2 separate regions of the Homo sapiens genome follow, and region 2 is linked to region 1. The links are contacts of gene promoters, found by promoter capture Hi-C in blood cells and fetal thymus (Javierre and others, 2016). All regions are on one chromosome and are shown on one strand. The core of a region is centred on a gene start or on the middle of the fragment in contact, and the rest is flanking DNA. Distances in the headings are between cores, read along the strand shown. Region 1 holds the start of MYBPH (myosin binding protein H). Region 2 overlaps PPFIA4 (PPFI scaffold protein A4).

Evidence for each region. Contacts are between HindIII fragments. The CHiCAGO score rates a contact against its expected background, and 5 or more counts as called.
Region 2: a contact is called between a fragment that was not itself captured here and the fragment with the promoter of MYBPH in region 1, in 1 of 17 cell types (M0 macrophages). The highest score is 5.8, in M0 macrophages.

What each region holds. Positions count from the first base shown.
Region 1 is chr1:203,174,431-203,177,130 of GRCh38, reverse strand. It overlaps MYBPH (myosin binding protein H), which reads left to right and starts at 1,305. Exons shown (of 11, transcript NM_004997.3): 1 at 1,305-1,580; 2 at 1,670-1,804; 3 at 2,534-2,700. The coding sequence starts at 1,376. RefSeq lists an enhancer at 2,641-2,700. The HindIII fragment of the contact is 10,255 bases long and covers 543-2,700 here.
Region 2 is chr1:203,060,916-203,063,615 of GRCh38, reverse strand. It overlaps PPFIA4 (PPFI scaffold protein A4), which reads right to left. Exons shown (of 30, transcript NM_001304331.2): 23 at 2,584-2,646; 24 at 1,938-1,964. Among named protein-coding and RNA genes, the nearest start is that of MYOPARR, 22 kb to the left of the region's middle. RefSeq lists an enhancer at 2,023-2,607. The HindIII fragment of the contact is 1,876 bases long and covers 484-2,359 here.

The DNA of each region.
Region 1 (2,700 bases), core at 56-2,555:
GCATTTGGATTTAATGTAGATGAGACAGATGAGACGCAACATTTCTGTGTGCCTTGCTCTTCTGCTCATCACTGGGTCTGTGAGTAGCTGAAGTTGCTCATTTGACCCCATATTTTGCTTTACAGTTGCATAAACACTCCACAGTTATTTATCCATCCCACTGTTGAGGGACAGCTGTTTTCCCCCACATTTCAACAATTACAAATAACATTGCCATGAACCTTCTTCTCCATGTCTCCTGGGGCATGTGTGGGTGTTATATGAGCGGCACGGCTGGGTCACGGAGTAGGCACCTCATCCATTTTACTAGGCACTAGTAAAACTCTCACATTTTCCAGAGTGACTGCTCCAATACCAGCAATAAAAGTTCTTAATGTTCTCCCTCCTTCCTGACACATGGCATTTTCTGGCTTTCCAGTGATTCCCAGTCTTAACATTTTATCGAACAAATGAATCAATGACTAGAAATCTGGCCATATCTGCCTCCTTTGGCACACTGAGAAAGCCCATGCCCACAGCCTGCTTGGAAGAGTCTAGAAGCTTCAGAGTGCTCTCCTCCACTAGGGCATCTTCCAGATCTGCCTACAACTGCAACCCATCCCGAAGGGCGAGGGGTTCTCTGTAACAGGTGGAAAACTGAGGCCCACAGCAGGCATCAGGGGAGACGAGCTCCTTACCAGCCGCCCAACTGAGACAGGAGCCAGGAGACTTAGTGCCCCTTCCTGGGGTTCCAATGCTGGAGGACCATCCTCTGAGCAGCTCCACCCTCAGCATCTCAATTCCCTCCCTCTCTAGGGCCCTCAGCCTCATACAGCACAGGCGAGAGTCCCTGGGAACTGTGGGAGCCCAGGGAATGTGGACCCCAGAGGCAAAGCTGGGAGTGCTCACAAGGACGATTGTCCCAAACTGTCAGGGCCCCAGCACCCAGTCTGAGAAGCTCTGGGAACAAGTGGCCCCATAGACGCCAGACACACAGAGCCTGAGCTGGGCTCATTCTCCAGATAGAAGTTCTTCCTCCTATTGCCCTGACACCTGGCACGCGGCCTGCTCGATGTCCCATCTCACCCATCTGCGCCCTCCCCCAGCTGGGCACCAGCACCCTGGCTGTTGAAGGCCAGTCGGGGAGATGGATGAGGAAGTGACTCCTCAAGGGGCCCTTGTGGTTCCTCCCCCAGAGCTATTCCTGGCCTGGGCGCCTCTCCACCCTCCAGTCCTCCTGCTTGACCTGACCCCACAGCTGGGAATCGTTTGCTGGGGGTGGGGCAGCCCCTGACTATATAAGCCTGGACCTAGGTGTCCCAGGCACCCTAGAGGCCCAGGCCCCCCAACGGCTGACCCCTGCACACTCCACCCTGGCCCCCCAGCCAGTCCAGCAATGATGGAAAAAAACACCTCCGAGGGCCCTGCCTGCAGTCCAGAGGAGACCGCATCTGAATCTGCCAAGGTGCCCACAGCAGAGCCTCCCGGAGAAGTGGCAGTATCAGAGTCCACCAGAGAAGAGCAGGTGCCCAAGCCGCAGGCCCCTGCCCCACAGGCCCCTACAGCCTCCACAGCCACTAAGCCTGCACCCCCAAGTGAAGGTGACTGAAGGTGGGGCAGGGGGAGGAGGGAGGCAGGCATGTCAGGGGTGGAGGGGAGCTCTTGGCCATGAACCTCTTCATCTCCCCAGATGTCCCCAGTGCCCCACTGCTGCTGACCCTGGATGATGTGAGCAGCAGCTCTGTGACTGTGAGCTGGGAGCCCCCAGAGAGGCTGGGGAGGCTGGGCCTCCAGGGCTATGTGCTGGAGCTCTGCAGAGAGGGAGGTGAGTGCTGGGCTAAGTCTTGCATACACCCAGGGGAGGTTGTCATGGAGGGCTGCAGGGACAAGTGCACAGGCCCTGTGGTTGGTCAGTCTGGGAGAGATACAGAAGGAGGGGATGCGAGCAGTAGGCTCCTCAACCCACCCACCTGCCCTTTCTTGCTCCACCAGCAGGAGAGCAAGAAAGGGTAGGTGGGTGGGTTGAGGGGCTCCCTTGTCCTCAGCTCCAAGGAGCTTCTGAGTAAGGGAAGGGTAAGGGGACACTGGGTTCTCCTTTGGTGAGAAGGGAAGGAAGTGCTAAGTCTCAGAGGACCCCGAACTGTAGGAAGTGGAAAGGGAGGAGCTGGAGAGGGGAATGTTAGCGTAAGAGACAGTGAGGAGAAAGCGGGAATGGGGTGGGGGTGTGGGGGCCACATCCCTGCTGCCACTGTCCCCCTCCATGGCCCAAGTCCAGCCTGGCCTCTGCCTCTGCCCCTACCTTGCTGTGTGACTTTGCAAATGTGTCCAACCCTCTCTGGGCTTCAACAACCTCATCTCTAGCCACAATTTCAGGGCTCTAACATCAGGTGTCTTTGATGCCATTTGACAAGAAGTCAGGGAAGGCAAACAAGGGGAAAATGAGGCCCAGAGAGGGAGGCTGATTTCCCCAGATCACCAGCAGGAAAAGAAGCCCCATGGAGAGGGGCGCCTGTGGCCACATTGCAAAGACCTCACACTCTCTCCATCCCCTCAGCCTCGGAGTGGGTGCCTGTGAGTGCCCGGCCCATGATGGTGACCCAGCAGACTGTGCGGAACCTGGCTCTGGGAGACAAGTTCCTCCTGCGCGTGTCTGCAGTGAGTTCTGCAGGGGCTGGCCCGCCGGCCATGCTGGACCAGCCCATCCACATCCGAGAGAACATT
Region 2 (2,700 bases), core at 172-2,671, 110 kb after region 1:
ATACGGTTCCACTCACATATCAATTATCTACACTAATGAACAGAAGTAGCTATCCCGGCAGCAGCTAATATGAAATCCTTCCTGTTGACTCTGGGTTGCATTTGCGGTATTGTGCAGCAGACGTGCCTTCCTGACTCTCAGTGAGCCTCAAGCCCGCTGAGCCCAGGGGAGAGGCTGTGTTACAGAGGACCTGCAGCGTGGCAAAGGAAGCCTGTCTCACTCCGGGACAAGGCTGGCTTCATGGAGGAAGCAAGGAAGTTAAATGTTGGCAGAAGACTGAAAAAAATAAAGGGTGGTGGCCTGTGCCTGAATAGCCAGCAGCACTCATTCTCTAAGGCCTGAGCCTCTGCTCCAAGAACACTCCAGGTCCTCTGTTGCTTTCCCACGCACACCCTGCCGTGTGGTCCTGCAGGGCCTGTGCCATGTGGACGTGGCCTCCTGACCTGGGCAGGGTGCTCCGTGACCACCCAACTTGAGAAAGCTTTAGTTTTCATAGCGACCCTACCTCACTCTTTCCTTACCCTTACTTGATGTTTTCAGATAGAAAAAGTCTATTTTGTTCTCTTTTACAATGTAATAGCTGATACATATAAGACTATATGTAATGTGCCCATTATGAAGCATATAAATGAAGTTAGCAACAGTGGACACCAACCAAGCTAAGCAGCAGAGCATTACCCACACTGTACTGTTTGCACACTGATGCTCGCTGTCAGCACACATCTCCTACTGCCCCTCTAAAAGGGAACCACTATGCTGAGTTTTCTGACTATTCCTTTGGTTGTAAAAAACTGTTTTACACTTTTTACAATCATCCATGTATATTTCCCTAAACAACATATTATTAATTTTGTTTGGTTTTGAGTTTTGGGATCAAATTCCATGCATCTTTTAGGATCTGCATTCTTCATTTCACACCCTATGGCTCGGATCCCCCCCGACCCATCACCTCTGCCAAGGGTGTTTTATGGCATGAATGATTCAGCCAGTCTCCTGCTGGTGGGGTTTTCCCTGAGCAGATATACACAGTGCTGCTCCCTGCTTCATTCTTCACAGCTCGCATCACTATCCAATATTGTCCCTTTATTTGTTTACTTATTGAGACTATCTTTTTTTTTTTTTTTTTTTTTTTTTTTGAGACGGAGTCTTGCTCTGTCACCCAGGCTGGAGTGCAGTGGTGTGATCTCGGCTCACTGCAAGCTCCGCCTCCCAGGTTCACGCCATTCTCCTGCCTCAGCCTCACGAGTAGCTGGGACTACAGGCGCCCGCCACCATGCCTGGCTATTTTTTTTTTGTATTTTTAGTAGAGACGGGGTTTCACTGTGTTAGCCAGGATGGTCTTGATCTCCTGACCTCGTGATCCGCCCGCCTCGGCCTCCCAAAGTGCTGGGATTACAGGTGTCAGCCACCGCGCCCAGCCGAGACTGTCTTTTTTATCCCTATTGACATGGTTTGTTTACTGATATTATTCCTTTATTTGTTTACTGCCTCCATGAGGGCTTGCTTTCTTTACTTCTATATCCAGAGAGCCAGGAAAGGCCTAATCCTTATATTTGCTCAATAAACGTTTGCTCATGAAATGGATGAAAGACCTTCGCTCAGTTCACCAGGGTGCCCCTGAGAGGGACAGGGAGAGGAAGAAGACTCATACTAATCTAGGTCTGATTATTCCCAGGAAAAGAATGAGACTGAGGAGAAGGGCCAGGAATGCAGGGGCCACAGTCCTCCAGGGCTCCTCACCTGCCACCCTGAGAAACCAGAACAAGCAGTTTGAGGGAACTGGGTGGGGGCGGGGGGCACTCTGATGGGAGCAGAGAACCTATGTCCAGGGCTTTTCATATGAAGGACTCAGAGATTCCTGCTGCGGAGAGAACCTACCAGAAGAACACTGTCCTGAAGTTTTGGGAGCTGGTTCTAGACAGGGTAGGGAGTCTTACCTGAGCCCAGCTGCCCTCCTCACTGTCCTAGCAGGAACGAGTGCAGCGTGTTAGGGGAAACAGGCAAAGTCAAGAAACCCATCAGCTCTACCCTAGGCCCCATCAAGGAGAGGAAAAAGACATCCCAGTATCTGGCTGGGTGACTGGGGAAAGCTCGTCAGGATGGTTAAGAGAGAACACAAGGTTGGTGTGTGCACCCATGTTTGCGTTGAGGTGGGGCAAATGTGTGTGTGGCAAAAACACACACCTCCCAGGCTTGACTGGGAGCCAGGCAAGATGCCCAGCTCTCCCAACACTCCCCATTCCTCCACCAGGGAGGAAGCACAAGGGCAGAGACTCTGTGGCTCAGGTCCATAGCAGGGCAAAGCCCTCCCCAGCCCAACTCTCCTCCGCTGTAGCACACCAGTGGCCCAGGGCAAGCTTGTGACCTCCTGGGAAGGATCACACACATACAAACTGCTCCGCTCCCAGCCTCACCCCTCTCCCGACAACCCTCCACCGTGACAGCAGATCACACCTCAGGGATACCAACCTCACGTGAGATCGATGGCAGCCCACTCTGACTGCCCACAGCCTTCCCCTCATCCTCATGGGAGTATCAGTCCCAACCCCAGGCCCAGGGACAAAGGCCAAGGGCCAGACTCACTGTTTTAGTAGATGTTTCCAGAGTTTCCATCTCTTCATGGGTGACCCAGACATTCCCAGAAGACTGCAGGCAGAGAGGAAACCTAGCTGGTCCTGGGTGTGGGTCCCCAGGATCCCC